7 separate regions of the Homo sapiens genome follow, and regions 2, 3, 4, 5, 6 and 7 are each linked to region 1. Evidence: promoter capture Hi-C in 16 types of primary human blood cells and fetal thymus (Javierre and others, 2016). All regions are on one chromosome and are shown on one strand. The core of a region is centred on a gene start or on the middle of the fragment in contact, and the rest is flanking DNA. Distances in the headings are between cores, read along the strand shown.

What was found. The method cuts DNA at HindIII sites, captures the fragments that hold promoters and counts their contacts. A CHiCAGO score of 5 or more calls a contact.
Region 2: a fragment that was not itself captured here is called in contact with the fragment with the promoter of CDKN2B in region 1 in 2 of 17 cell types (fetal thymus and total CD4 T cells); the score reaches 7.7 in fetal thymus.
Region 3: a fragment that was not itself captured here is called in contact with the fragment with the promoter of CDKN2B in region 1 in 1 of 17 cell types (M2 macrophages); the score reaches 7.3 in M2 macrophages.
Region 4: a contact is called between a fragment that was not itself captured here and the fragment with the promoter of CDKN2B in region 1, in 8 of 17 cell types (activated CD4 T cells, naive CD8 T cells, total CD8 T cells and 5 more). The highest score is 10.3, in activated CD4 T cells.
Region 5: a contact is called between a fragment that was not itself captured here and the fragment with the promoter of CDKN2B in region 1, in 2 of 17 cell types (activated CD4 T cells and total B cells). The highest score is 7.3, in activated CD4 T cells.
Region 6: a contact is called between the fragment with the promoter of IFNA2 here and the fragment with the promoter of CDKN2B in region 1, in 9 of 17 cell types (total CD4 T cells, activated CD4 T cells, naive CD8 T cells and 6 more). The highest score is 15.7, in total CD4 T cells.
Region 7: a contact is called between a fragment that was not itself captured here and the fragment with the promoter of CDKN2B in region 1, in 1 of 17 cell types (total B cells). The highest score is 5.1, in total B cells.

The regions. Positions count from the first base shown.
Region 1 is chr9:22,007,770-22,010,820 of GRCh38, forward strand. CDKN2B (cyclin dependent kinase inhibitor 2B) reads right to left here and starts at 1,536. Exons shown (of 2, transcript NM_004936.4): 1 at 1,029-1,536. The coding sequence starts at 1,184. The region is part of intron 1 of CDKN2B-AS1 (CDKN2B and CDKN2A antisense cis and trans regulatory RNA 1); the gene reads left to right. RefSeq lists a silencer at 878-1,077. The HindIII fragment of the contact is 2,577 bases long and covers 826-3,051 here.
Region 2 is chr9:21,250,473-21,253,523 of GRCh38, forward strand. No RefSeq gene overlaps it. Among named protein-coding and RNA genes, the nearest start is that of IFNA14, 12 kb to the left of the region's middle. The HindIII fragment of the contact is 266 bases long and covers 1,451-1,716 here.
Region 3 is chr9:21,266,975-21,270,025 of GRCh38, forward strand. It overlaps LOC107987053 (a long non-coding RNA gene), which reads left to right and starts at 615. Exons shown (of 3, transcript XR_001746634.2): 1 at 615-760; 2 at 1,658-1,982. The HindIII fragment of the contact is 1,090 bases long and covers 1,033-2,122 here.
Region 4 is chr9:21,318,710-21,321,760 of GRCh38, forward strand. The region is part of intron 2 of LOC107987053 (a long non-coding RNA gene); the gene reads left to right. It also overlaps the pseudogene IFNA20P. Among named protein-coding and RNA genes, the nearest start is that of IFNA5, 15 kb to the left of the region's middle. The HindIII fragment of the contact is 168 bases long and covers 1,412-1,579 here.
Region 5 is chr9:21,336,313-21,339,363 of GRCh38, forward strand. LOC107987053 (a long non-coding RNA gene) reads left to right here. Exons shown (of 3, transcript XR_001746634.2): 3 at 309-989. Among named protein-coding and RNA genes, the nearest start is that of KLHL9, 2.4 kb to the left of the region's middle. The HindIII fragment of the contact is 4,111 bases long and covers 1-3,051 here.
Region 6 is chr9:21,383,801-21,386,851 of GRCh38, forward strand. IFNA2 (interferon alpha 2) reads right to left here and starts at 1,598. Exons shown (of 1, transcript NM_000605.4): 1 at 455-1,598. The coding sequence starts at 1,529. The coding sequence ends at 963. The HindIII fragment of the contact is 9,842 bases long and covers 1-3,051 here.
Region 7 is chr9:21,400,215-21,403,265 of GRCh38, forward strand. It overlaps the pseudogene IFNA12P. Among named protein-coding and RNA genes, the nearest start is that of IFNA8, 7.4 kb to the right of the region's middle. The HindIII fragment of the contact is 1,209 bases long and covers 1,048-2,256 here.

The sequences.
Region 1 (3,051 bases), core at 286-2,785:
TGAATTACATATATAACTTGTTTTTATAATTATTAATAAAATTTTAAGTTTTTAAGATGCACTTTACAATATTTTTGCTCCTTTAAAAATCCCTCATTTGTTATACCATTATTCTAAGAATTCAAAAGAAATGAACACTTCTTTAAAATCTATACTATTAACAAGATCCCTTAATATTAGCTTAGTTTTAGAGGGTGATAGTGAGGTGAGTACTGAATATGACCACTAGCCAACGGTAAAGTACAAAAGAGTTGTCCGAGATTGTAAAAGAAATAAAAAATATCAGTACTAATTAAAGCAGGATTCGTACTTAAACATTGAATAAGTGTATTTTAACAATGAAGATAAAGATGCATTATTTATGAAGATCCTTTGCCATTCAAAAAGGACCTAACAGTTGCTGCAGGAATATTTTTGTAATCTGGGCACTGAGTATGATAATTAAAGAATGAGAAACCTATAGAACTATATATTTTTTCTCTTATGCATCACTCATAAGACACTGCTAACATAAAAGGAACTAAGTACTGTGGTTGAGGAATCCCGTCTCATTCTCAATTAACCTCTATGAGAAAACAATACAACAGATTTCATATAGTAGCTTAGAAGTTTACATTGATTTTTTCCATGTACTATGATTTTGTAGAATTCCTTAAATCCAATCTAGAATGCGTAACTTATACTTTACTTATCTTTATCGTTGAAAGCAGACAGACAAGATAATCTTCTTCCCTAAATAAGCTTTCCTTTTCTCCTTTTCTCCCCAATTCAGTCTATTCCTTGCATCTCTGATCATGAGATGGCAGAACAAAAACCACTAAAAAAAGCTTAAACAGTGGGTTTTTCAATGTCTCTCTTTAGGATTTTTGCTGGGTAAAAGCCTGTTTTACGCGTGGAATGCACACCTCCGGCCAACGGAGACTCCTGTACAAATCTACATCGGCGATCTAGGTTCCAGCCCCGATCCGCCGAGGCCGCGCCCCGCGTTCGCGCGCCCCCTGCCGGCGAGGCCCTGGGGCCCCAGCTACCTGGATCGCGCGCCTCCCGAAACGGTTGACTCCGTTGGGATCCGCGCCGGCTTCCAGGAGCTGTCGCACCTTCTCCACTAGTCCCCGCGCCGCGGCGCTGGCCAGACCCTCATCGCTGCCGCCCCCACTGGGCATGCCCTTGTTCTCCTCGCGCATTCCGCAGCCCCCAGACGCGCAGCGGCCCGGATAATCCACCGTTGGCCGTAAACTTAACGACACTCTTCCCTTCTTTCCCACGCTGCTCCGGCGCACTCTCTCCTTCCTAGGAGACCTGGGCTCAGCTTCATTACCCTCCCGTCGTCCTTCTGCGGCTTGGGGCCCCGTGCAGTGGCCGAGCGGCCGGTCGTTAGCTCCGGGCTTTTCCTGGCGCTCAAGAACCAGCGGGCGCGCCTGGATTGCTTCTGGGAAAAAGCGCCTAGCGCGGACGCAGCCGAGCTCAAAGCCGCTCTGGCCGCAGGGTGCGGACGCGTCGCGGAGTCCTCACTGCCCCGCCTCGCTCTGGCAGAGTGGGGAGCCAGCCGGCAAAGAATTCCGTTTTCAGCTGGGCCAAGGGGCCGGCGTCTCCCCACCCCCTTAGGCTCCGCCCCCTGTCCGCTGTGATCGCCGGGAGGCCAGGCCCGGGCCGACGCGTCACGAGGGCGGGGAAGCCTGCCCAAAGATGCTAGGACGCATGCGCCAGAGACTGGGCCAGGGAGCCGCCAGGAATGCTGGCTGCACTGCTCGCTGGATGTCCAGTAAAGCCAAGGCTAATATTTTGGGAATGTTCACCACTGCCCTCAGCTCCTAATCCCCAGTAGGCGGAGCAGAGGATTTCTGTTCCTTCAGCCAGCCAGTTGGTTTCACTGTGGAGACGTTGGTGGCTCCCTTGTGACCGAGAGAAAGTCATTCAAAATAACTCCGTGTTTCTTAAGATGTCTGAAAGCGACAGCTCTGCACCTGTCATACAAGTTAAATTCATCCCCAGGCAGTACTTGGGCTTCACAAGTTTCATAACTTGTATCAAACTTAGCAATTTTCTCTTGGATGTGTCTTTCTGTTTGAATTAGTCAACCATAAAAATAGAGAAAAATCCCGAGAATCATGTTTTGCGTGTGCTTTTTAATTCTTTCCATTTTTGCATTATGGATACAACCCTTAAAAGAGAAAAAAACTAGTTCGAGATTGAGAGTGGCAACCTGGCACACATAAGACAAAAAAAAATTATACTTTAAGAATCTGAGATCCCAGTTTCATCATATTTGTACAGTAAATCTTTGTTTGCACTCTTACCTATTTAAACCCACTTTGTCAGGTATCTTATTTTTATTTATCATGAGTAATAAAGGAAATTTATGCAGTAATAATGAAACATCATAAGAGAGGGGTGTGGTGCTGGGCTTGTCATTAAACAGGCTGAACCTGTCATTAAATTCTCTTCTGAAGATTTAAATGCCAAGTGCTTTTTTTCCCCTTCCTAATCTTCCTAGGTGAGTTTGAATCAACATTTATTACTTAAAATATTTAAAACATTTCAGCGGATGCTACATTGGATAGGAAGAGAACCGCAAGTTATGGATTTGTTGCCTAAAAACTTTGGTGAGGAACTGCATAAGTGGACCTCTCCTAAAAGTGAACAATTTTTGTTTACAGAATCATTTTGGTTCGGAGTGCTGAGGAAGACAAAGTCTTAACAGGAGGGCAATTGCTTGTGTATTGCAAAATGAGAGTCTTCACATGTTTTTTTTAGGATACCTTAGCTCTGACTCCTCATCCCCCAAATCCCTGTAGAATTAAAAAAAGCTCTTTCTTTTAAAGGCAGTGGAAGTGCCACCACCATGGAAGTGCTGGTTAGGGCTGAAAATCTACTGACAGAGCCTCAACAGAGCTGAAATCCACCTGGACAGGGAAGGGAACCGGGTAGCATTAATAACAATTTCTTTTTCTTTCCCATCCAACCCCCATTTCCTAGTCTTCAGTTTCTTAATTTCTCTACCTTTTACTCTTATGCTCTTGTTTTGACCTTTGAGTTTCTCTGAAACTTATC
Region 2 (3,051 bases), core at 334-2,833, 760 kb before region 1:
GTAATTGACAAAGTGATAAAAGCATTAGTATTTTTTATCAGAAATAAAGGATGATCTTTGCTTGTCTTTTGGACTTGAATCCTCAGAAAGTGTACAAATCCTAACTTTGAATGTGCCTATTGAGTATAGAATACACTGACTGGAAAAAAGAAAAAAGAAAAAAGAAGAAAGAGAACTGACCCACCAATGCCTCTTTTCAATTAATGAAGTTAAATAAATACAATTCGGCAAAGATCTTTGCTGCCTTTAGAAGCTGTGATTCTTCAGCCAGGTGCAGTGCCTCACGCCTGTAATTCCAGCACTTTGGGAGGCCGAGGCAGGTGGATCACGAGGTCAGGAGATCAAGATCTTCATGGCCAATATGGTGAAACCCTGTCTCTACTAAAAATACAAAAATTAGCTGGGTGTGGTGGTGCATGCTTGTAATCCCACTTACTCGGGAGGCTGAGGCAGGAGAATCGCTTGAACCTGGGAGGAGGAGATTGCAGTGAGCTGAGATCGCACGACTGCACTCCAGCCTGGTGACAGAGCAAGACTCCATCTCAAACAAACAAACAAAAAACAAACAAAAGAATACAAAAAAAAGAGAAGAAGTTGTGATTCTTCAATACATGCATTATTGATATCTGTCCTGCTGGGAAGTCTCTGGCCCAATTGAAATGTACTCAAATACCTGCTGTGTCCCTTCTGTTCAGGCATTGTTTCATTTTTTACTGCCTTTAAGGAGGCTGCATTATGACTAGAATTTAAGAGATGCCTTGAATTGCATTGGCCCCATAAATAAGTTTGCCTGTAGTGTGAGAACTTGATGGGTACTAGGGAGGAAACAGGAGTTTGCAGCTGACACTGAAGTAACCCTGTCCCTTCCAATACTCTACAGGCTGCTGTAGTATCAGTGTCACCCATGCAGGGGACAGTGTTGGCCATGTCTCCACGGGAGCACTGTATGCTCTCAGCATCCACTTCAATCTTCTCTCCCTCTGATTTGAATATTCTGAACAGTTGACTCAGTGCTTCCATTGCTACTCCATTTTCTGAGGACCTTCCAGTCTTCTCTCCTCCTTCCAAATTCTAAAGCTGCTGCTGGCTCTGTCTTCATGTTTCATAATGTGGGCTTTGCTTTTTTCAACAAATGAGAGTCCTGAGCCTGGTGGAGTCTCTTCCTAGCGGAATCAGAATGTTGGAAGTCCCTAAAAAGAGGCACAAATGAGCTCCTGTATTCTTTACCCGCTCATTGGGTGTAGTGTTGTGGGCAGGACTCTCTCTATTTACTGTGTTTCTGTTCCCAGCAAAACATCCTTGACCTCTGCAGTGCTGAGCTTGCCAGGTAAGGGAAATCTAGGGGTGGTTACATTCTTTGGCCTCGTGAGCTCACAAAGCCCCGTTGTCTCCAGGTGGTACTGTATCATGATCTCTTGTATCTGTTCCAATGGAGTCAGGGCAGGGACTAAGCTTCCATGTGTTCCTCACCAGAGGAACTGTCCAGGGACTTGTATGAGGCAGGCTATAATAGGGCTCCTCTCTGCCAGCTCTGCCACTTCCTTTCATTGGGTCTCCAATACTTTAGAATATATAAAAAATTAACTTCTCGATATGTTCAGGATATAGTTACAGACATTTTTCAGGATAAGGTGACAATATGCAGCCACATCATACAATTTTTGCCCACTGAAATGATAAGCAACAAAAAACAAAAATAACATTAAAGAAATAAGAAGCTTAAAAGTAGTCAGGAATAAAAGGGTTTTTAATATATGAAAGGTGTTAAACCATCAAAGAGACAGAGGAGAGAGAACCAGGTATATTCAAAAGTGTTAATGTTTTCTTTCTGATCCTAAACTGGGCCCCCCACACTCAGTAGCTAATGAAAGAGAGGCAAAGAACAAATATATTGTAAAATATAACTTTGAATTTCCCAATTTCTCTCCTCTTCCATTTCAAAAGAGCCATATAAAGGTTGGGTCTGTAACTTGAGCAAAGAATTGAGAAATCTGTCCTAAGTTGAAGCCTCTTCCTACTAACCTAGCAATTCACACATGCTTCCTGGTTAACTTCTTCAAATACACCATTTCACAGATCACTTTAATGTTTCCCCAATTCTACCCAAATTGATACTTCTACTGGGTATCATTTGGCAAGAATTGTATCTTCTGATCCCTTTACAGATCTCTGTTCTCTCTCTTACTACTGAGTGAAAATAGAAGGGATGCAAGTTGAGTCATTATTGAAAATAACAGAGAATGTTCTCCTTATTATGAATGTAAGTGACATGATCTAAGGAATGAATTTGTAAAATTAGCAACTTACTATTAAGAAAGAGCTAATGTACCTTCAAACAGGAGATTTTAATGGATGTCCATTACAGTTCTACACCCACATTGGCAGGCTGTACTGAATCCTAGTGCAGCTCAATACATAAAGGAGGGATGAGTCAGGGGGCTGAAGTCAAGGGACACATTCTTACCCTTTCTCTCTCTACATAGCTGTCCACTGCCCAAAGGACATGTCCTGCTTGAAGCTGGGAGTACTTTCCTTCTCTATGATAAAAAAAATGAAGGAAATGGGCTTCTTCCAATATAAGGTTCAGCTCTTTCTGAGAAAGAGTCCTTTTTACCTATGAAGAAAATTCTGCAAAGGGACAGAATTCTTTATAGAAAAGAAAAGCTGACTCTCCACAGAGTTGGTGTATGTCTTTGTCATCATGGCCAGTAGGTGGCTGTCATCCTCTGTAAATAACTGAACAGCCTCCAGAGTAGAATAAATCTTGACATTTCCTTTTTCTTTAGAGAAAGTTACATCATTTTAACAAAAGTATTCATTCATTTCCAAAATTTTTCACCAGGAGGGAAAAAAAAAGACCTCTGATATGGATGTTTATGAAAAACCTAGAACTCTCACTTAACTTTTGCTTTTATTTGATGACTTTGTGCTCTTAGGGGAAAACTGACAGCCAAAAACCACAAGGGAACAGGAAGCAGCTGTACGAGTGGCAGTGCGGGTTGCTGGTGAGTGAATGAGGACAGCACGCTGGGATTTCTACACTGGAGAGGG
Region 3 (3,051 bases), core at 328-2,827, 740 kb before region 1:
AGTATGCTTCAATTCTACCCAAATAGGTAGCAAACAGGTGTCAATTGGGAGTCATTATAGTCTCTGAAATCTCTTTACTTATGGCAGTGCTCTAACTCAGAGTCAAGGTGGAATTGATCCAAGCTCATTTGTTATTCAAAGTGAGAGTGAGAATTTTCTCATGATAGTAAAGTCAAGGGACAGAATCTGAGAATAGGAAAGAATTTCTAAAACTGACAACTTACTTGTAAGAAAGAGCTAATGTGCCTTCAAATGAGATTTTTTTTCCTGATTTCCATTGGAGTTCTGCACCCAGATTGGCTGGCTGTACTGATTCCTTATATAACAGAATACATAGAGGGAGGGATGGAACAGGAGGCCCTTGGAGGCTGGCCAGGCTGGAGGTAAGGAACACATCCTGACCCTTTTTTCCCCACATAGCCATCCATTGCCAAAAAAAGTTAAAATGTGCCTGAGGCTGGGAGTATTTTCTCTAAGATACAAACATTAAGAAAAAGTGCTTATTCCCATACTGGGGTCAGTTCCTGACAGGAAAGAGCCTCTTTTTAACTCTGAAATGAAATCTCCTGCCAGGGACACACTTCTGCATAAGCAGAAAAGCTGCTCCTCACAGACTTGGCCGCTGTCTTGGTGCATTTTGGTCATCGGTGGCTCTCTTTTCCTGTAAATGTTTTAACAGCCTCAGAGTAAAATGGAGCCTATTGTGGAAGACTGAGTGCTGGTGGCATGGGGCTCAAAGGATTTACCAAGACAGTTGTAGGTAAAGGAAGGCAGAAAATTTATTAGGAAAATATGTTGCCAGAGAGACAACAGGCAGCCAGTGGAAGAGAAGCTGACTGCCAGGAGAGAAAGGCTTGCTGGAGATTTTATAGGATAAAATCTATGCTGTCTGTTGAAGAGGGCTTTGTGTGGTATTGATAACACAAAGGTTGCAGTGAGCTAACTTGCAGATGTCTACTGATAGCTGGGTACAGAAATATTATGAATGATTTGAGCAGGAGGACTGTGTGTCCCAGACTATAAAGAAAAGCAAGCTTGTTTTCTACCTGCTTCCTCTTTTTGCTTTCTCCTGCTCCCACCAGCCCTACTCTTTTTTCCGAATTAAGACTCCACAGAACCTGCCTTTTATTTCCCCTTTGCAAAGCTACTGTTACATCATTATAAAAGGGACATTCCCTCTTTTTCCAGAAATATTCCTAAGAAAAGAAAAACAGCCTGTTATATAAGAGTGTCTGAAAAAACTAGAACTTTCACTCAAGGTCGGCTTTAATTTGCAGTTTTGTATTCATAAGGGGAAAGTGATGGGCAAACCCCACAAGAGAACAGAAATCAGCTGTGTGAATAGGCACTGCAGGCTAATGAAGAGTGAAGAGGAGAGCACAGTGGGAATTTCTAGAGGAAGAGAAAGGAATCTAATGTGATATGGGAGTGAAAAATGGGATCCAGAAAAGCAGAGAGGAAATGGGGAAGTGGACCAGGTCTCAGAACCAGCAAAGGCTACTATGTATATTTCACTTAGTTTAGGAGACTAACTTCATATGGGAGCGTATGCTGGAATTCTGAGAGCCAGAAAAGGAACGTGCCAGGTGCCAGAATCAGTTAATAGGCATTATGTGTCTTCTGCATTTCAATCTACATGCTGCTTCTTTTCTTTCAGGTATTCATACAAACCAACATTTCCTGACTGAATGCAAATAGGACACTTCTTTGAAATGAGGAGCGACAAATTTTTAACCTTTCTAGAATTCATGACAGAATACTGTTTTTTTTTTTTTTTTAACGCTGTCTCCATTGAAAGTCAGTTACTGAATGGTAGGACACAATTCTTATGAATTTTGTAGAAAGACAAATAATATTCTCATCTACAACTGTGTGAAGAAAAATAGAAAAATACTTGCCATGTGTTAAATCCTTACACTATGGAGAATACTATGCAAACTGCTTTCAACTGCCTGCGTTCATTTAAGAATCACAACAACTATGTAAGTATTTCTAATCCTTTCTATTTATAAGAAACTGAGGCTCAGAGATATTAAGTGCTTTTTTTCAACATCACACATACATGCAAACAGAGTGAAATTTCAATGTTAAATTTTTTATTGTTATTTACAACTAATGTGTAAGCTTTGTATTGGGAATTTCTGCAATAATTTTAACTCTCTTTTGATTCCTGGATTATACACAACTCTCTCCTGCTCTCTGTATATCCTTGGTTCATGTTGTATTTTCGGCTGATTTTGACCAATCTTTTATTTTATTTTGTATTTTTATTTATTATTTACTTATTTTTTGAGGCAGAGTCTCACTCTGTCACCCAGGCTGGAGTGCAGTGACGCTATCTGGGCTCACTGCAAGCTCCGCTTCCAGGGTTCACGCCATTCTCCTGCCTCAGCCTCCCAAGTAGCTGGGACTACAGAAACCCGCCACTACGCCCGGCTAATTTTTTTGTATTTTTAGTAGAGAAGGGGTTTCACTGCGTTAGCCAGGATGGTCTCGATCTCCTGACCTCATGATCCGCCCACCTCGGCCTCCCAAAATGCTGGGATTGCAGGCGTGAGCCACCGCGCCTGGGCCCTATGTTTTGTTTTGTTTTGTTTTTTATTATTATACTTTAAGTTCTGGGATACATGTGCAGAATGTGCAGGTTTGTTACATAGGTATACATGGGCCATGGTGATTTGCTGCACCCATCAACTCGTCGTCTCCATTAGGTATTTCTCCTAATGCTATCCTTCCCCTAGCCCCCACCCCCAACAGGCTCCAGTGTGTGATGTTTCCCTTCCTGCGTCCACGTGTTCTCATTGTTCAACTCCTATTTATGAGTGACAACATGTGGTGTTTGGTTTTCTGTTCCTGTGTTAATTTGCTGAGAATGATGGTTTCCAGCTTCATCCATGTCCCTGTAAAAGACATGAACTCATCCTTTTTATGGCTGCATAGTATTCCATGGTGTATAGGTGCCACATTTTCTTTATGCAGTCTATCATTGATGGGCGTTTGGGTTGGTTCCAAGCCTTTGCTATTGTGAACAGTGTTGCAATAAACGTATGT
Region 4 (3,051 bases), core at 246-2,745, 690 kb before region 1:
TGGCTTTGTACTCTTATGGGAAAATTGACAGCCAGAAATTACAATGGAACAGGAAGCAGCTGTATGAATGGCAGTGCAGGTTAATGGTGAGTGAATGAGGAGAGCACCCTGGGATTTCTACGCTGGGGAGGGAGGAAACTAATGTCATACAGAAATGAAAGAATGGGATCCTCCAGTAAGTAGGGGGGAAGGGAGAGTGTGGCAGCCATCAGAATCAGCAAAGTATTGTGATTTTTCCATGGCTGAAAATCAAGGTAGTCCCATTTCCAATCCCCCTCCCTCCAGAAATATATATATGTATATATATGCTTGTATATACTTAAATTTTATGTAACATAAAATAAGTTTATATACTTATATTAATATACATTACATTTTTAGATTATGTATTTTGTAATTAATATGTGTAAATATAATTATGTATACTTAAGTATATACAGCTTTAAGTATTATATACTTTTACAATCTCATATAATTTAATATATGCTTATTATATTATACTTAACATATTAAAATATATTAAATTTGTATATTATTAAATATATAAGTATACATAATTTAAGCATATGTATTTAAATATACATAAAGAATATATAGGCCTGGCGTGGTGGCTCAGGTCTATAATGCCAGTACTTTGGAAGGCCAAGGCAGGAAGATTGCTTGAGGCCAGGATTTACCAGCCTGGTCAACAGAAGGAGACACCATCTCTACCAAAAAATAAAAAATTAGCCAGGTGTGGTAGTGCACACCTATAGTCTCAGCTATTTGGGAGGCCAAGGTGGGAGGATCACTTGGGCCCAGGAGTTCGAGGATGTAGTGAGGTATGACAGCAGCACTGCAGTCCAGCCTGAACAAAAGAGTGAGACTTTTGTCAAAAAAAAAAGAATATATATTTATATATCTTATATATGTTTTTGTACATTTAAAAATCCATATGTAAATATAATGTGTAAAAATATGTATACATTTATATATTTTAATATATATACTTCAATATATACTTTATATAGAATAACATATATACGATATGTTATATATACACATATACAATATAGCATATAACATATATTGTATGTTATTAAATACATTACAATATTTACTTATTTATTTGTATTTAAATATGTATATATAAATATGTAAGTGTATATTCTGTATATATCTATAGGTAACTTTATATAATACTATATTCAGTTAGTTTCAAATCACCTTTTTTTTTTTAGGGTTGAGTTAGAGAGTTGTAAAGGCTAGGAAAATGGTTTACAAAATATGTTTTACTTGGGCCTAAAAATAATCATCAATGGTGATTTGAAACTAACTGAATCTGAGTAAAGGGATTATTTTATTTATTTATACTATTCACAGAGCAGCCATTTTCTATCGCAACTTGCTGAGACACTGGTTCCCTGGAACAAGCTTCATGGGGGCTGTACAATTTTTCCTCTGTGCAAGGCACTACTCTGACAATGGGAACCTGGGCTCTGCTCCTTCACAGTTTTACAGACAGTCCCCTTTCCTAGAGTTTCAATTTGAGGGACATCAACGTGTTAGACCTCAGGAATGTCAGGGGAGCTGCAATCAAAGCTTCTCTTGTCTGGATTTGGTTAAATGTGGACTATACAGGATTATGTTATTTATTACATTGAAATTAAAGGTAACTATCATTTACCATGTTCAGATTCTCAGCCAGTAATTTGCAAACTTTATTTTATTTCATCTTTGCAGTTTCCTATGTGACAACTATTAAAATTGTCTCAATTTTGCAGAAGAGGAAAGGAAAATCTGATGTTGTTTAAGCTCCCAGGAGCCACAGATGTTGTCACAAAGTGGCAGTTTCTACTGCCTCCCAATTTCCCTCTTCATTAGCTTTCAGTTCTTCCTCTTGGCTGCACTGAGCATGCTAGTGTTTAATTAATCACAATCATGTCTTAAATGCCATTCTTTGAATCCATGGAGGGTAGTCATCATCCTGTATTACTTATCTGTTAATCTAAATTGCCAAGCCTATTGTCTGTCACATATATGCAGTAAAGACATTTTTAGTGACAGAACAAAGACAACTGGATGACTTAACCCTGGGTTTTCGAGTTTTATGCCACCGTTATCTACAGATTATAAGCTGTGGCTCTTGTAAAGAAAGGTGGAAGAAATCAAACCTAGTGTATTAGCCACTTAAAAGAGAAATGCAGAGAGGTGAGGAAACATGTATTTCAGTGCAGTTTAAGAAGTAAAAATGTCCAAGATCAAACCTCTAAGTATACTTATTAGAATTTTAAAAGAGACATAGATTGAGACTCAGATAGGTTGTTATTTCAACATTGAGCCTCATTTGGATGGGTATTTCCTATTAGATTGAGAGTTTTGCCATTTTCTGAGTGTGTTTAATTTCCATTGTCATAATACAAAAGAAGTGTTGAGGTCATGACATTATCTGAGACCCATAAATAGAAGAGAAAGTGAACAAAGTAGAAATAAAGTTGAGATAAGTACAAAAACTGAAAACCCTAATCTGGTTATGTAAGAATCTCACAACAAGAAAGTGCTGAGACAGGTGGGTAAAGACTCAAATGGCCTAGCCAGCTGTATCCCACCAATGACCCGGCCAACCTCTTCCCTAGTGACACTGAGGATGATATTCTGCAGTTCTCTCTGCAGCTTTAGCTGTGGCCTAGCCCAGAGCCATGGGCTGCCATAAATAGGTGACCTTCAAAGTTCTGCACCAAATTGGGAGAATCTTTCTTTTCTTCCTGTCTGAAGAACAAGAATGTTTTTTAAGTTTCCCCTAGAGCAGCCGCATGGCACCAAATTCCAAAAGGCTCAGGCCACCAATGTTCTTCATGAGATGATCCAGCAGATCTCCAACGTTTTCAGCACAAAGAACTGAAATTCCTCACTGGGCTTGATCAGTAGCTAGAATTTCTGGAGACCTGTTTGGGTATAGGAAATCAAAGAGACCTTGAGTAGGAGGACTCCAGCCTGGCTGTGAAGGAGTATTCACAAGCAATCAGTCTCTATGTGAGAAAGAAAGAACACATCTGTTGTGCCTGGGACATT
Region 5 (3,051 bases), core at 188-2,687, 670 kb before region 1:
TTCCATTTTCCAAATTTTGAAGTTTCTGTCTTTTAAATCCTTCTAGTTCTTTATGCATATGCAAAGTAAGAATGTAGTCATGTTTTTCTTACACTCGCCTCGTTTTTATGTAAAAGATAGCATACCATGTACACTGTTCTGCATCTTTTTTTTTCACTTCAAGATCTTCCTGAATTAGTGTAGAGGGCTTATTTATATTTTTAAACAATTCTGTTGTTGCCTTCTGAGTTGTTACATCATAAGTTATTTAACCAGTGCCCTGTTGATGGGCAGTTCATCTGTTTTGAATGTTTTCTATTGTTTCCAAGGGATGGCAGCAAAATTCAGAAGGCTTAGACTACCACTGTCCTCCACAAGGTGCTCCAGCAGATTGTCACCTTATTCAACACAAGAGGTTGGTTGGAATGAAACTGGCCTGGAGAAATTATTCACTGAATTTTTATCAGCATTGGGAAGTCCTGGAGCCCTGCTTGTTGAATGAGTTAGGGGTGGAAGGGCTCTCTCAGGCCATGACAACTCCCTAATGCTGTGAAGAGCTACTTCCAAGGAATCAGTCTCTATCTGGAAAAGAAAGAAGAGAGCCTCTGTACATGGGAAGTTGGAGCAAGAAATCATGAGATCCTTCTTTTTTTCATCAAACTTGCAAGTAAGATTAATAGCTTAGGAACAGACTTGTGTCTTCATGAAATGATTACTATAGACACTCTTCATTATATTCCCATATGTTTAGTTATTTTAAAAGACTATCTTTTCTGCCTGCATAATGAAATGATTGAATCAAATTTGTCACAATACTTGTTGGTAATGTCAAGCAACTGTATGATAAAGCATCCAGTTCTTAGGGGCATTAGCTCACCATGGATGATATTATTAATTTACCCATGTACTTAATTATTGATTCTACTACATTTATTGTATTCAGTATTTTTGCTTGTATGAAATGTTCACTTTTAACACTGTGCTAATTACATTAAAAAGTGTTCACTTTATGTATATTTTGTTTGTTTGTTTTGTTTTGTTTTGTTTTGACGGAGTCTCGCTCTGTCACCCAGGCTGGAGTACAGTGGTGCGATCTCGGCTCACTGCAACCTCCGCCTCCCAGGGTCAAGCAATTCTCCTGCCTTAGCGTCCCGAGTAGCTGGGACTACAGGTGCGCGCCACCATGCCCAGCTAATTTTTTGTATTTTTAGTAGAGATAGAGTTTCACCATGCTGGCCAGTCTGCTCTCAAACTCCTGACCTTGTGATCCGCCTGCCTCAGCCTCCCAAAGTGCTGGGATTACAGGCGTGAGCCACCATGCCTGGCCCCTCACTTTATATTTTGAAAATTATTCTCTTTATTATTTCGAGTTTTACTTTCAGATCATTTTGCATTTGTTTATTTAAAAAAAACAAACACAAGGTCTTGCTCTGTCACTAAGCTGGAGTGCAGTGGCAGGTTCATAGCTCACTACAGCCTCAAACTCCTAGCCTCAACAATCCTCCCACCTCAGCCTCCCACACTGCTGGGATTACTGGCATGAGCCACCATACCTGGCCTTACTCAATAAATCAATGCCAAGGTTGGTTTTGCAACCTCAAGTGAAGTTCAGTTCATTCATTCCATTCACACTGTATGAAACACTTGATATGTGACTTTTCAGGATAGAAAAGTGAATAAAGGAAACACAGCTTCAGCCCTCTTGAAACTTTTTGCTGAGGGAGAAATAAAACTATTAACCAATTAATTAATTTCAACTCTATCATAAACTCAAACCATAGGCAAAAGAAAAGTGGTTTTTGTCATCAGAAACTGGAAGACTTTAAGCCTTGAAAATTGGATACACAGTTCTGGGATTTAGAGTGCATGGCTAGAGATGTTCATTTGGGAGCTGGGCTATACCTTTTTCCTGAAGGCCCAAGGATGGATGAGGTCTGGTAGAAATTGAGTAGTGAATCAGAAGACCAAAACCTGGATCTTGAGGACCTTTACATCTTAATGTAGTGAACAGAGTGAGGAACCTGAAAAGGGCATGTGAATGAAATGATAGGAGGACATCCAGGAGCAAAATAGGAGGACAACCAGGAGAAAATTGTGATAAGAGGGTGTTTAAGGGAAGAAATGTGTTTAAAACATGACGTTTTACATTTAGGAAAAGAAAGGACTGGTTTGCCAGAATTAATTTGGCAAAATCCAGATTGGAATATATTGACTAGAGTAAATAGCAGGAGAGGTTGGAGACACAGTGGATGGAAACTTCTTTTAGAAGTTTATCTGTGAGTGGAAGAAGAGCAAGAAGGTAGTACCTGGAGAAAAATGTGTGTTTGTATTATCGGATATAATTTTGTAACCTTTTTACAAACTTTTATTTAGGATTGATTTCAGGGAATGGATATAATGGCACAAAGCATATAAAATTAATACTTTATTTCATAGGCTATATTGTCTTACTGCTTATTTAATAATCTAAAATTTCAAGAATAATTGTTTAATAGTTTTTGAGTACTAGTGGGCTATAATGCCTTTCCATTTGCTTCACTTGCTGTTCTTAATTCTATTTAGATTTCATTTTATGGCATTAATTGTAGTTTTTATTGTTCTTATGAATTATGCTTTTATACGCCCCTCTTAAAAGTATATATAAACCCTTTATGTAGATGTTAGCTATATTCCCTATGATGCAACTTTCTCGATTTTGTTTACATATAACTGTTATTTTCCTTTACATTTCTCCTATTGCCAGACAATTGAGAACATCTAAAACTTATGGAAAATGCGTTTGAAATCCTACTTCTTTCTTTCAAACAAATGGGCTCTCTTTATTAATGTGGATAAATAAAATCCAAATACTCTTCAGAGAGAGTGTAGATGACTGCTCAGAGAGCTCATTTATCACATTCTTCGTACACCAGGGATGCTAATTGTGCAAAAATACTGAAACCTAAGTAAGGCTGGACAAGGATGGCCATCGTAGTAAAGGCCATCTCTGACCAGATGGGGATGCTTCTAGGGAAGTGTATTTAGCTGCCATGCAGAGAATGTCTGCAAACCACCACGTTGTGAGTTTATTGA
Region 6 (3,051 bases), core at 348-2,847, 620 kb before region 1:
GTGGATGTTTCCTTTGCGGCTTTTCTCTCCCCTCCCTTTAAAAGCGAAAGGTCCTCAGAATCATGTTTAAAACTTTTTCTCTCTCTACACTCTCTCCCAACACCATGACCTTCATTTCTTGGCTTTCTCTTATCACATATAAACCCCCAGCAATCGCATTCCTTGCAAATTGCAAACTTATATATCTAACTGGCAATGGACATTTTCTAATAGATGTATACTAGTCAATTTAAAGAGAATGTCTCTGTCTTATTTTTATTTCCTCACATGCCTCAATCTACCTTCTGCAGAGAGAAATCATCGGTTGTTCCTTCTTCTCTTCATACCATTTACCATAACTGATAATTAAGTATGATTACCATTTTTAGTTTTTTTCATACAAAAATCAAATACACAAGAGAGCAGAATTGTATTTGTTAGGTTCACCTTGTTATCTTGAGTACAACATACAACCTGGTTTACAGAAAGTTTATTTTTACTTATATCTTGAATATAATATTGATGGATAAATGAAGTGTACCAGTTATTCTGTAATCAGGTTGCACAATTAGGCTTGGAATTTCATTTTAAAGAATAAACAAGTACAAAAGTTTCCATAGCAAAAGTTCAATGAACAACACAAAATAAATTTACCAAATACAAAGAACATATTTTATTACATTAACCACTGTGCAAAGGTGCACATGACATAATATGAACAAAAATAAGTTGTTTTATAAATAGTTAAATAAATAATATTTTAAAAATATTTAAATAGATAATGGATCAGTCAGCATGGTCCTCTGTAAGGGACTAGTGCCTTAAGAGCTGAATACAATGTTGATTAATACTCCTAAAAACATTTGAAAAGATTTAAATCGTGTCATGGTCATAGCAGAAACATGAGTCTTTGAAATGGCAGATCATAAAAAGGTGAGCTGGCATACGAATCAATGAAAATCATTTCCATGTTGAACCAGTTTTCATTCCTTACTTCTTAAACTTTCTTGCAAGTTTGTTGACAAAGAAAAAGATCTCATGATTTCTGCTCTGACAACCTCCCAGGCACAAGGGCTGTATTTCTTCTCTTTCAGATAGAGAGTGATTCTTTGGAAGTATTTCCTCACAGCCAGAATGGAGTCCTCCTTCATCAGGGGAGTCTCTGTCACCCCCACCCCCTGTATCACACAGGCTTCCAGGTCATTCAGCTGCTGGTAGAGTTCAGTGTAGAATTTGTCTAGGAGGGTCTCATCCCAAGCAGCAGATGAGTCCTTTGTGCTGAAGAGATTGAAGATCTGCTGGATCATCTCATGGAGGACAGGGATGGTTTCAGCCTTTTGGAACTGGTTGCCAAACTCCTCCTGGGGAAATCCAAAGTCATGTCTGTCCTTCAAGCAGGAGAAAAGAGAGATTCTCCTCATCTGTGCCAGGAGCATCAAGGTCCTCCTGCTACCCAGGCTGTGGGTTTGAGGCAGATCACAGCCCACAGAGCAGCTTGACTTGCAGCTGAGCACCAGGAGGGCCACCAGTAAAGCAAAGGTCAAGGCCATTGTAGATGTTGCAGATGCTGCTAGACTGGTTGAAATGGGTGAGCCTAAACCTTAGGCTCCAGGTTCTCTGAAGACCTTGCTTTGTGCCTAGCCTTAAATAGGGAACATACTCGTTTACATTTTCCAAATGCCCCTGTGTTACTTTCTACTTCTCTTTTTGCTTTCTTTATGCACTCTTTACATGGGTTTTCAGCTGTTTTTCTCACCACATTTTTTTCATTATTGTTTCCTTCCTCTTTTACCCCAGAGCCTTTTTAGAAACTTTTTTCTGATTGAATCTCCCATTATATTTTAATCACATATACACTGTGTATCTATTTACATATCCTATGTATATCTCTATTCTATACATTAAATTAAAAAGTATAAAGTTAATGTTTTATTATTGCAAAGAATGATAAAACAATTAAAAATTAAATTAAAAGGCTATTGACATTTTACTTAACTTGATAACTATATTCTTAGAGCAACTTTTTTGAAAATAGATTTTTGTGGGTACATAAGAGGCGTCTGTGTTTATGGAATAAGTGAAATATTTTTATATAGGCAGACAATTCATAATAATCACAGCAGGGTGAATGGAGTATCCAATGCTTCAAACATTTATCATTTCTCTCTGCTACATACATCCCATTTATACTATTTTAGTTATTTTATAATATATAATAAATTATCATTAACAGTAGTCATCCTATTGTGCTATCGAATACTAAATCATATTCATTTTTTCTAACTATATTTTTGTGCCCGTTAGCCATCTCCATTTTCCCCCATATGATCCAGCAATCCCACTACTGGGTATTTATCCAAAGGAAATGAAATCAGTATGTCAACAAAATATTTACACTCCCATGTTTATTGCAGCACTATTCACAATAGCTAAGATTTGGAAGCAACTTAGGTGTCTAACAGATGAATGGATAAAGAAAATATGGCACTTATACACAATGGAGTACTACTTAGCCATAAAAAAGAATGAGATCCTGTCATTTGCAAGAACATGGATGGAGCTGGAGGACATTATGTTCATTGGACAACATTAAACCCATTGATCTGCACATACCTAACCACACTTGAATCTCTAGGACAAATTCCACTTGGTCATGATGAATGATTGTTTTAATGTGTTCTTGAATTCAGTTTGCTAATTTGTTGTTGAGGATTTCTGCATCAATGTTCATCAGAGATATTGGCCTACAGTTTTCTTTCTTTTTAATGTGTCTTTCTCTGGTTTTATATGTGATTAAAATATAATGGGAGATTCAATCAGAAAAAACACTGGCCTCATAGAATACATTTGGAAAGATTCTGTCCACCTCTATTTTTTTAATAATTTGAGTTGGATTGGTATTAGTTTTTTAAATATTTGGCAAAATTCATCAGTGAAGCCATCAGATCCTGAGTTCTTTTCTGGGATACTTTTTAGTATGGCTTCTGTCTCATTACTTGTTATTGGCCTGTTCACATTTTGTATTTCTTCATGGTTCCATGAAGAAATACAAAAACCATGAAGAAATACAAG
Region 7 (3,051 bases), core at 402-2,901, 610 kb before region 1:
TTGGAGGCAGTAGAAAGCTCCACTTTCTGACAAAATCTGTGACTCTTAGCAAGTTAAACATCAGATTTTCATTTCCTCTTCTGAAAAATTCAGAATATTTTAGTAGTTGTCATATTAGAAACTGTAAAGATTAAATGAAATAAAGTTTGGAAATTACTGGCTGAGAATCTGAACATGATAAATTATAGTGATGTGGTTTGGCTGTGTCTCCACCCAAATCTCACCTTGAATTGTAATAATTCCCACATGTCAATAGTGGGGCCAGGTGGAGATAATTGAATCATGGGGGCAGTTTCTCCCATATTGTTCTCGTGGTAGCGAATAAGTCTCACAAGATCCAATGGTTTTATAAATGGGGGTTCTCCTCCCTGCACAAGCTCTCTCTTGCCTGCCACCATGTAAGACATGACTTTGCTCCTCATTCACCTTCCGCCATGATTGTGAGGCCTCCCCAGCCATGTGGAACTGTGAGTCAATTAAACCTCTTTCCTTTATAAATTACTCAGTCTTGGGTATGTCTTTAGTAGCAGCATGAGAACAGACTAATACAGATAGTAACCTTTAGTATAATCTATATAGTTTGCATTTGTGAACTATATAGAAAAAATATATATATACATACAACCATGTATTTATAATCTGTATAGTCCATATTCAACCAAGTCCATCCAAGAAAAGCTTTGATTGCAGCTCCCCTGACACTCTCAGGGTCTTGCACATTGGCGCCTCCTAAATGGAAACTCTAGGAGAGGAAATTGTCTGTAAGACTGGAAAATATTTTAAAGAAGTTTATTCTGAGCCAATATGAGTGACCATATCCTGGAGAAACAGTTTTAAGAGGTCCTGAAAAAGTGCACCCAAGGTGGTTGGGTTATAATTTGGTTTTAGACATTTCAGGGAGATACGAATTGCAGGTAAAATCATAAATCAATACATGGAAGGTATACAGTGGTTTGGCCAGAAAAGGCAAGACATCTCAAAGTGGGGATTTAAAAGTCACAGGTGGGTTTCAGGGATTCTTTAGCTGGCAATTGGTTGAAACAGTTAAGCTTTGTCTAAAGACTTGAAGTCATTAGAAAAGAATGCTTAAATTAAGATAAATGGGTCTGCAATCTGCCATATGGTATTATATGAGAGTTAGGTTAGAAAGTGAGCCACATTTTACTGGGTTAATTTTTAAAAATCCATTTAAGGAGATTTTATGGTTTGCAGTACATAACTCTCGCCTTGCATGGCCTTAGGTCTTGCTTATAATTTGGTATCTTATTGCCACAAAGTCTGTTTTGTCTTATTATCTCTCTTATAACATCAATGCTGGCCAGTTTGTGTCCATACTCCAAAACGGAGGGGGATATAATGAGGCGTGTCCATCCTGCTTCCCATCATGGTTGAGAATTCAGTTAAGGTTTTTAGGGGTTCCATTGGCCAAAAGGGGGCATGTTCAGCCAATGGGTGGCTTAGTATTTTATTTTTAGTTTTAGTTTATAACTCTATATCTATATATATATGTAAGTATATGTAGAATATATACTTACATTTTATATATTATGGGTATTTAAATATATAAATATATACATATGTTATAATTTTATATAAAGTATATGCTGAAATATATAAATATGTATACGTAAGTATTTAAATGTACAGAAACACACATATAAAATAGATCAATATAAAAATATATATCCTTTATATATTTAAAATATATACTTAAATTATCAACTCAAATACTATTTTAATACAATATTAAAATTGGAAATTAATGCCTAAACATCCATGATGAGGCAAATATCAAAATTTTAATTAAGTAAAGGCAGGAAATGTAAGATGACCCTGAGGGTCTTACAAAGGAGAGGGGCCAGTGTAACAAATTATGGCAAACTCCACTCAGGCTATAAAATTCTTACCCTAGAAAATAAAAAGTTCTGACCTGCTCCTCTACTCTTTGTAGGCAACACTGCTCATTTCTCTTTTCAGCAACACAAGTCAAGGTGGGGTCTTGAGGAAGGGCTTTCAGTAAACCAAAGTTAAATAAAATTATCTCAGTGTCACTGAGTCACTGGAAATGTCAGACATGGCACTTCTCCCAGATAAAACAAAGTAGGGATCTTGAAAGCATTGCTGAGTTTGCTTCCTTTAAAGCTAGGGAAGTAAGATCACAACATTCTTGTTTTGGTATAAAGTATTTAAAATAATGCTGTTGAGTTTTAACATACCTGAATTATGGTTTCAGCGACACTGGCGTCTGAAGCTGAAAGCTTAGCTCCTGGCACACCCTGGGGCAGGCACGGGCGCCTCTCTGCTCCTGGCCCGGTGCGCGGCGTCCCCAGCCCCGGGCGCTCCCAGGACCCGTCCGCTCGCCCCAGGGTCCAGCGTGTCCCCTTCCCCAAGACGTCCCCGCCCTGCGCCCCCACACAAACGGAATCCCCAAGATTAAACCCGTGCGATCTCGAGCCCTCAAGTCCCGGAATCAACGGGTCCCTCTGTAAAAACAAGTCTCGCTGAAGTCTCTATGGGAAATAAAAGCCCCAAACCCAGGGGAAAATCCCGAAAATAAAAGGTGCCCTGCTGGCTACCTGAGGAAGATGTCTCAAGGGAGACCACGGCGGAGCTGCCTCCTGAGCAGCAAAAGAGATTTTTTTACTCAGGTCGAAGCTGCACAAAGTTGGCGCGATAAGCCGCGACGACGTTTCCCTGGGGCTGCGGGACGCCCCGAAACTCAAACCCGCGGTTCCCAAATCCTGGGCATCAGGAAAACCCATTCTGGCGCCTTGCTGCGGCCGTGGTGCGCAGCGCTGGGAGCTTTGCGCTCTTTGCGCAGCGGGCCCGCGCCCCTTCGAGGCCGGCTAGTGAATCTCTGAAATCACAGTGGCCTACACCTCCCTGGTAATGGCGGGAGTCATCATGCTCATCTCCAGCGCTGCCTGCTCACTTGGCAGGGACAAGTCTTGGAGCCATGGCTAGAAAACAAGGAAGGCAGGAGGAAACCTCAGTGCTATTCACACAGCTGAAAAGTATCCCCTCTCAATCATGCCTAATGACAGAACCCAC